Linked DNA regions of Homo sapiens: all the other regions are linked to region 2. Evidence: promoter capture Hi-C in 16 types of primary human blood cells and fetal thymus (Javierre and others, 2016). All regions are on one chromosome and are shown on one strand. The core of a region is centred on a gene start or on the middle of the fragment in contact, and the rest is flanking DNA. Distances in the headings are between cores, read along the strand shown.

Evidence for each region. Contacts are between HindIII fragments. The CHiCAGO score rates a contact against its expected background, and 5 or more counts as called.
Region 1: a contact is called between a fragment that was not itself captured here and the fragment with the promoter of MAST4 in region 2, in 7 of 17 cell types (endothelial precursors, M2 macrophages, M1 macrophages and 4 more). The highest score is 7.1, in endothelial precursors.
Region 3: a contact is called between a fragment that was not itself captured here and the fragment with the promoter of MAST4 in region 2, in 1 of 17 cell types (M1 macrophages). The highest score is 5.0, in M1 macrophages.

What each region holds. Positions count from the first base shown.
Region 1 is chr5:66,320,639-66,323,338 of GRCh38, forward strand. LOC124900988 (a long non-coding RNA gene) reads left to right here. Exons shown (of 3, transcript XR_007058792.1): 3 at 2,195-2,700. Among named protein-coding and RNA genes, the nearest start is that of LINC02065, 110 kb to the left of the region's middle. The HindIII fragment of the contact is 1,865 bases long and covers 357-2,221 here.
Region 2 is chr5:66,594,995-66,597,694 of GRCh38, forward strand. MAST4 (microtubule associated serine/threonine kinase family member 4) reads left to right here and starts at 1,399. Exons shown (of 29, transcript NM_001164664.2): 1 at 1,399-2,024. The coding sequence starts at 1,662. RefSeq lists silencers at 1,035-1,234, 1,845-1,984, 1,995-2,144. The HindIII fragment of the contact is 7,618 bases long and covers 1-2,700 here.
Region 3 is chr5:66,205,454-66,208,153 of GRCh38, forward strand. It overlaps LINC02065 (long intergenic non-protein coding RNA 2065), which reads right to left. Exons shown (of 2, transcript NR_146488.1): 2 at 1-1,200. All of the region lies in intron 3 of LOC401191 (a long non-coding RNA gene), which reads left to right. Among named protein-coding and RNA genes, the nearest start is that of LINC02065, 2.6 kb to the right of the region's middle. The HindIII fragment of the contact is 1,855 bases long and covers 488-2,342 here.

The DNA.
Region 1 (2,700 bases), core at 39-2,538, 270 kb before region 2:
GTGAGAAGTGCTACGAACTGCTAAGAAGTCCTGGCATAGTAAGTGTTGTGAAATATACAGGACAGGAGTGTGGAGCTGAATGCCAGGGGATAGGGGCTCTAACAAGTGGTGGAGTCGACAAGCTGTGTGACCTTGGAACAGCCGTTTAACCCCTTAGAATCTCAGTTTCTCTTTGTAATATTTACACAAAGTCGTTGTGAGAATTAAGTGAGGTAAGGATGTGAACTATCGAGCACAGAGTTTGTCCCACATAAGACAATTTGGATAAATATTGCAACTGTAGTAAAAGGTCTTACCGAGGATTTACCTTGTCTTTTGCACAAGAGATTAAGTCACTGTGGTGAAACTGAAGAGGAAGCTTTGTCCTTTTTGGATGTGGGTGGGAAGGAGAGAAGATGAGGTACGCGTCGGGATGGAGTGGGGAGGGGAGGATGAGGGGGGAAGGGAACAAAGGGGAGCTGTAGGAATTTATTCAAAGGAAAAGACATCATTATATTGAAGGGCCATCTGAACCCCTGTGTTTATTGCAGCACTATTCACAATAGCCAAGACCTGCAATCAACCTAGGTGTCCAACAACAGATGAGCAGATAAAGAAAATGTGATATATATATATATATATATATATACACACACACACAATGGACTATTAATCAGCCATAAAAAGAATGAAATCCTGTCATTTGTGGCACCATGGAGGGAACTGGAGGACACTATGTTAAGTGAAATAAGCTAGGAACAGAAAGTTAAACACTATATATTCTCACTTATATGTGAAAGCTAGAAAAAGTTGATCTTATAGAAATGAAAAGTAGAATAGAGGATACTAGAGGCCGGGAAGAGTTGGGGGAAGAGGGGGCTAGGGAGAGATTTGTTAAAGGACACAAAATTATGGCTAGATGGGAGGAGTGAGTTCTAGTGTTCTATACCACTGTAGGATGACTGTAGTTAACAATAACATATATATAGTTTCAATTAGCTAGAAGCAGGGATATTGAACAGGAGGAGAACCAGTGGATTTCAAAGGCTGAAAAGAAAGATCTGCTTGCTTTCTAGGGGTTGGAGGCACAGGGATGTGGATTACGGGGAATTGAAATAGTCAGAGAGTTCTTGCTATGTAAAACAATTCTGACAGACAATCCCTGGAATCCTGACACCTGGAGGAGGGAGGGAGGGAGTATCACCTAAGAACTGCTGTCCTAGAACCCTTGCTGGGGAGAGGGGTGCACAGCCTTCGCTGAGCTGGACATTAAAGTTGACCATCCTCCCTCAGAAGACCAAAGGTATAAGGCCAGCACAGTGTGGAGGGAACATCTCAGGCTGTGGGCAGTCAGAGTTCAGCAGCCATGTTGGTGGCAGCAAGGAACCAGGCAGGAGTGGATTGTTCAGAGACCAGTGCTCTCCTTGCCGAATATGAGAGGCAGGCTGGCCATTAATATGGGGCTGAGGTTATTAGGAAAATACTGGACTTATTGCTTTATGGTAGGTGGGTGACTGAGGTGGTTTTATTTTATTTTATATATATATATATACACATACATACATATATATACATATATATGTATGTATATATATGTATATATATGTATGTATGTGTATAGAGAGAGAGAGAGATTGAGTGATGGATGCATGCTAGCTGTGGCCTGAATTAATGGAGCAAGTCTTTGTTCTGTGTCCTATTGGTAAAGATAGGAGAATTCTTTAGTGCTCTAGGGTTGTCTGTTCTCACTGGGGCCTTTGGTCAGGAAAGGCGGCCATTCCATGACAAGAAACCCAGGAGCAGGACCTGTGCCCCTCCTCACACAGGATACCTACAACAGGCATTTGTAATGACTTAGAAATTCATGCACTACTTTTCTCATTTAATTCTTATAATAACCCTGCAAATAGGCATTTGTCTGCATTTTAGAGATGAGAAAATTGAAGCCTAGAGAGGTGCAGTCATTTGCCCCGGTCTCATGATGGAGGTGGTGCTCAAGCACAGGCCAATTTCAAATTCTGCTTTGCTTCCCATATCCCATTCTCCCCCATGAGACTTCACAGTGCGTGTGTGAAGTGCTCCGGATGTTGGGATTGAATACAATGGCAGTTCTATTGCACACATTTTTCTTTCTTGCCGGGAGTCTAGGCTTCTTTAAGTGCATAAATAATACATAAATTAGTATGTTGAGCTGATTCCCACACTTTTTCAACAGACCTTCAGTTCTTCCTGAGATCGATAAAGCTTAAAAGAAAAGAAAAAGCCAACTCAGCTTGTGCGTGGATCCTGGACCTTGCTCTAATACAGACCCCGCTCCTGGAGTGTAAGCCATGCTTGACGGCTCAGCTTTCTTGTCACTAATGAGGTGGGATGTGGTTGTGCATTCAAAATCTAGCAAGGACGAAGTGAGTGCACCACTGATTAAACATGGAGAGAAATTTCTTTCCAAAGGGCTGTGTAAGAGGAGAAGCAGGAGATGTATGTAAGATTTCTCATTTGTGCAATGCATCCTCTGAACCACTGTGATGCCACGGGCTGCTGAACTTTCCACAGGGGCCATTAGGGACGAAATCACACCGATGGAATGAAAGGGAAAATAACCAAAGACAACAGCAACAGCTCAAAACACCAGAAAAAGCAGCAACACTATATCTATCCGTCACTGGCCCAACTCGACATCTGGAAAAGAACCCAGAGTAGCTGCCAACCAGATGGCCCCTT
Region 2 (2,700 bases), core at 149-2,648:
AAGAGAAATCTAAGATGCTCAAGGACCTGCTACTGTTTTTCTGTAACTCTTTCCTCTTCTCCCTCACACATTTTTCCTGTATCACTTATCACAGCTTCTAAAATGGATAAGGGAGCTATATTATGCAGTATCAATCTCTCGCTTGACCATAAGCTGCTCAAGGGCAGGGGACCTGACTTATTAATCTTTGTATCCCCTGCACCTGGCACACATCTCCATCAACGTACATGGAACTGAGGCGGTTGAATTTACATCCCAGGTCACTGTGCCAGAGCTCAGAATGGGACTAGAGCTGAAGGCAAGAGAGGAATCATTTATTTCCCACTGCTGAGCTGAGTGCTGGCTTCCAAGGAAATTCCAGTCACCGGACAGGCAGCATCCTCCAGCCCCAGGGAAGGACTTAAGGGTACTCTATTGGTACCTTTAGTGAAAGTTCTTTCTCCTAGTTCTTAGAGGTAAGGAAAATGAAGCAACCTGTCCTGTATCCTGTTGGTTTACAACCCAGGGCTAGGAGAATGTACATTGGAAAGTGAATCCTTTTCATCCTCTGCTTAGCTGATCATACCGAGACAGACAATTTGAGTAGGACTACAGAGCTTGGTCCTAATTAAATACAAGGACATACTTTTTTATCTTCCTCCCTATCAAAAGGTTCAAGTCTCAGACTTAACTTTTTAGTTTACAAACAGAAATAAAGACAGGAAATAGTCTTTTAAAAACGCTCCGTGTATCCAAGCCAGGCACTTTGCTGATGCATTATATATATTTGCTCTAAGCCTGCCAAGACCAGTAGTAATGTAGCCATTTACAGTTGAGGAAACTGAGGCCCAAAGAGCTTAAACGGAAAAGCAGAGATTAGAGGTCACTCCCCTTTGGGTCCGCTCACTATACCACGAAGTTTCTGTCCTTTTCCTCCAACACGCTGGTGAGTCCGTGTGCGTGGGTGACTGTGTGTGTGTGGTTCCTTTTTTCCCTATAGAGCCCTCCTTCTTGTCCGTTTTCTTGATTCCACTTTTTGGAGACAAAGTCCAGTTCTTCTCCAAGGTCTCACCATCCGCTCGCCGTCTCCCTCTGACGTCCCAAGGACGGTCAGCCACTCCCCCGCTAAGTTCGGAGTCTCAGCCCTTGGCTCCGATTCTGGGCTCCGCCCCCACCCTCCGGGGACCCCCGCCTGGTCCCTGTCCCCTGCGCCCAGGCGCTCCAGCGGGACCACGGCCCGCGCCCGGGCCCCGCCTCCCCTACCTGAGGCCCTCATGGCCGGAGGCGTCGCAGCCTCCGCCCACCAGCGCGCCTGCCCTGCCATTGGCTCTGCGGGCTGCCCGTCTCCTTGCTCCGTCCCGGAGGCAGGTTTTGCAAGGAGAAGCCGCAGTACCCGCGGCTCGGGTGCAGCGCGGGAGCACAGTGGAGCGCAGATCGCGGACCCGAGCGGGCATGTCCCCGCGCGCGGGAGCCTCCGTTTGCGGCCGGGCCCGGGCGGCTGTGAACTTAGCAGCGGGCTCCTGCGGCCCCGTCACTGCCATGTAGTCGCTGGCGGGGCTCCCTGCAGCCCGGGAGCGGCAGTGCCAGTGAGCCTGAGCCCAGGAGCCCGCGTCTTCCCCGGGAGGCGCTGAGTGCGCGCCGCGCCCCCGCCGCTCGGGAGGCACTTTGGGCCAGACAGGGAAATGGGGGAGAAAGTTTCGGAGGCGCCAGAGCCGGTGCCCCGCGGCTGCAGTGGCCACGGCAGCCGGACTCCAGCCTCTGCGCTGGTCGCCGCGTCCTCTCCGGGTGCTTCCTCGGCCGAGTCCTCCTCGGGCTCAGAAACTCTGTCGGAGGAAGGGGAGCCCGGCGGCTTCTCCAGAGAGCATCAGCCGCCGCCGCCGCCGCCGTTGGGAGGCACCCTGGGCGCCCGGGCGCCCGCCGCGTGGGCTCCGGCAAGCGTGCTGCTGGAGCGCGGAGTCCTTGCGCTGCCGCCGCCGCTTCCCGGAGGAGCTGTGCCGCCCGCGCCCCGGGGCAGCAGCGCGTCCCAGGAGGAGCAGGACGAGGAGGTGGGCCTTTCCCCAGCTTGCCCACTCTGGGTTCCGGCAGCCGGGCGACCGTAGTTTCCCATCCTGCGCACAGGCAGTGGGCAGGAGAGCGCTGTGGCCTGGAGATAGGGAGGGACCCCAAGCGCTCTGCCCCGAGCACGGGACAACGATAGTTAGGAGCCCCCCTGTGGGTTATTGACTTCCCTGTGGCTGTTACCCCCGTGTGTGTGTCTCAGTGTGCTGCCTGATGGTGTGTTTTTAAAATGTCAGAGAAGCAAACTCCTTCGTGTTTGTATCTGACTTGGTTGATCTGTGAAAGGATGCGATCTGGACATCTGGCGTGTCCCCACAACTCACCTCTGATTCTCCAAAGTGGGCGTTGTTTCCCACCGAAGCGCTTGGGCCGAGGGGCAGGGAGTTGAGGGGGAGAAATGGTGCCTTGGGGGTAAGAGGCAGGAGTAGGGTGGGGGGCAGCGGTAGCCGCGGAGTTGCCTGCGGAGGTTTCAGTGGCGCCAGCCCCCTGGGATCGCCCGCGGGTGGTTTTGGCGCGTCCCCGCAGCGTCGGTCCTCTGGGAGAAGAGGACTCCCCGCGCTCCCTCGGTGGCGCTGGCGTGCGCGCCTGCAGCTCCCGTTCAGACTTGTTTCCAGCTTGTCCAGATGAACGCTTGTCACCAAACCGAGTACAGATCGTCTTACC
Region 3 (2,700 bases), core at 165-2,664, 390 kb before region 2:
TCCAAATAAGATCACATTCGTAGATACCAGGGTTAGGGCTTGAGCATCTCTTTTTGGGGAACACAATTCTACCCACTGCAGCATGTACCCCTACTGCTTCTATGAATACAGAACTCTACAGGCTGTCATTAATTGCCAAAGCTTTCTGTGAGGCTCTTTTTGTTAGGTAAAAGTAGGATGCAGATGCAGGGTACAGTCACATACACACACCATTACTGACCTCAGAAGGCTTACAGTCTCATAAAAAAACTGATCGTAAATCAACCTGTAGCTATTCATTAGAAAAAGTCCTTTAGGGCTTAGTCCATTTGGACTGTTATAACAAAATACCTTAGATAGGTAACTTATAAACAACAGAAATTCATTGTTCACAGTTCTGGAGGCTGGGAAGCCCAAGATCAAGGCAGCAGCATTGATGTCTGGTGAGGGCCTGCTTCCTCATAGATGGCACTTTCTATGAGTCTTCACATGGCAGAAGGGGCTAATAAGCTTCTTCAGGCCTCTTTTATTATATAAAAGCACTAATCCCATTCATGAGGGCTTTACCCTCAAGACCTAATTATTTCCTAAAGGTCCCGCCTCTTAATCCTATTGCATTGGGGATTAGGTTTCAATATATGAATTTTGGGGAGATGCAAACTTTCAGACCATAGCGTGTAGTGATGGGAAGAAGACATGGTTTACATAATATGGATGGGGGGCCTCTCTGAGGATATGACATTAAACTGAGACTTGAAGGATGGCAGTGAATCAGCCATGGGAAAGATAAGGAGAATGTTCCAGGTAGAGTTAACAGCAAATACTAAGGCCCCAAGGCAGGAAAGAGCTTACCACTTTCCAGGGACTAAAGGAGCAAAGAGGGGGAGATGACAGAAGATGAGATTAAAGATGTAGGCAGGGGCCACATCTTTACTCTTTAATTGCCTAATGGGCAATGAATAGCTTCCAAACTTTTTTGCTGCAACCCTACAGCTAAGAAATACCTTTGACACACTACCTGGTCCATAGACGCATATATACACAACTGGACAGTAGATGGGAAGATAGTGAGTCGTCGTTAGATTTTTTGGTTGCCTTTTGGAGGTAGCATCTCCGGATCTCAAGGATTGTGCATGGGAAGGTGAAAGGATTCCAGATGATGCTCAGCAACTGGGCTTGAGTAGTTGTGTTGAAGGTGGTGCCAATAAATGACATGACAGCCTGGAGGAGGAAAAGGATTTTGTTGGGGAGGGTGTGGCTGAAAATAAACAGTTCCGTATTTGACATACTATGTTTTAAGATACCTGGATAGTAGTAGGAAAGCAAACTAACTGGCTGTTTTCTTCTACTATACTCTCAACACTCAACACAGCAAACTTCACATTAGGTCACAAAAATGTGTCAGGGGATTTCCGCAACAACCAATTCTCCAGCAGACACCAACTGGGTGTCCTGAATTCAGTTCAATTCTGATACTCTAACCTAGAGTCAGATCCCACAGGTTAGGGCTCAGTCCCACAAGACAACCTCCTATTTCCGATGCCAGTTGAAAATCCCAGATTGTGACTCGTGCTTCTAATGACTGGGTACAAATTGGGAGTTCCCATGACCCCCTCCTCAGATTCAATCATTTGTTAGAGCAGCTCACAGAACTCAGGAAAGTGTTTCATTTATGTTTCCTGGCTTATTATAGAATACATCACAAAAGATACAGATGAATGGCCGGGTGGAAGAGATGGCGTGGTGGCACACATCTGTAACCCCAGCACTTTGGGAGGCTGAGGCAGGAGGATCATTTGAGGCCAGAAGTTTAAGACCAGTCTGGGCAACATAGCAAGACCCTGTTTCTATTTAAAAAATAATAAAAAGTTAAAAAATGTGTAAAATATGTATAAAGGAAGAGATGCATAAGACAAGATATGAGTAAGGTGTCTTGGAGCTTCCATGCCCTCTCTGGGTGTACTAGCAACCTGGAAGCTCTCTGAATTCTATTCTTATGGTTGCTATGAAGGCTTCATTATGTAGGCATGAGTGATTAAATCACTGGCCATTGGAGATCAACTCAACCTACAGTCTCTCTCCCCTTCCTGAAGGAGGGTGGTGTGGGGGTGCTGAAAGTTCTAACCCTCTAATCACATGGTTGTTTCTCCTGGCATCTTGAGGCTCTCCATTAGTCCCCAGCCAGGGATCATCTCGCTAGCATACAAAAGGGTACTTATAACTTGGGAAATTCCAAAGGTTTTAGGAGTTCTGTGCCCTGAAACTGGAAGAAGACCAAAATATGTTATTTCTTCTTATAAATCACAATATCACAGTTACTGAAGTCAAAACCACAGAGATTATCACTTAAATAAAAGGAAGCAAGCTTCTTTTGCTTCTGTCTTGCTGCATAGCTCTGAAACCCAGTCCTGCCTTTTGTAAGAGTGAGTGAGCATGTGTGTGCACGTGTGCTGTGCTGAAGGGCTTTTCTGAGGTAAAGCGAAGTTCATGAGCCGAGACTGAGCTGAGCTGTCCAAATTGGTTTCAGCTGATGGCCTTTGTTAGTGGAGTTTGAATTCCTGCTATCTGTCTTGTTATTTTTTTCATTTTCTTTCCAAATTCATTTCTGGAGCTTGGGGCCTCAAAAATAACAAGTTGTTAAAATGACTGAGTATGCTGTCTGGCTCCACCGAGCCCAACCTCCCCCACTATGTGTCCTAAGCAGGACTGTGAGTCCTCATT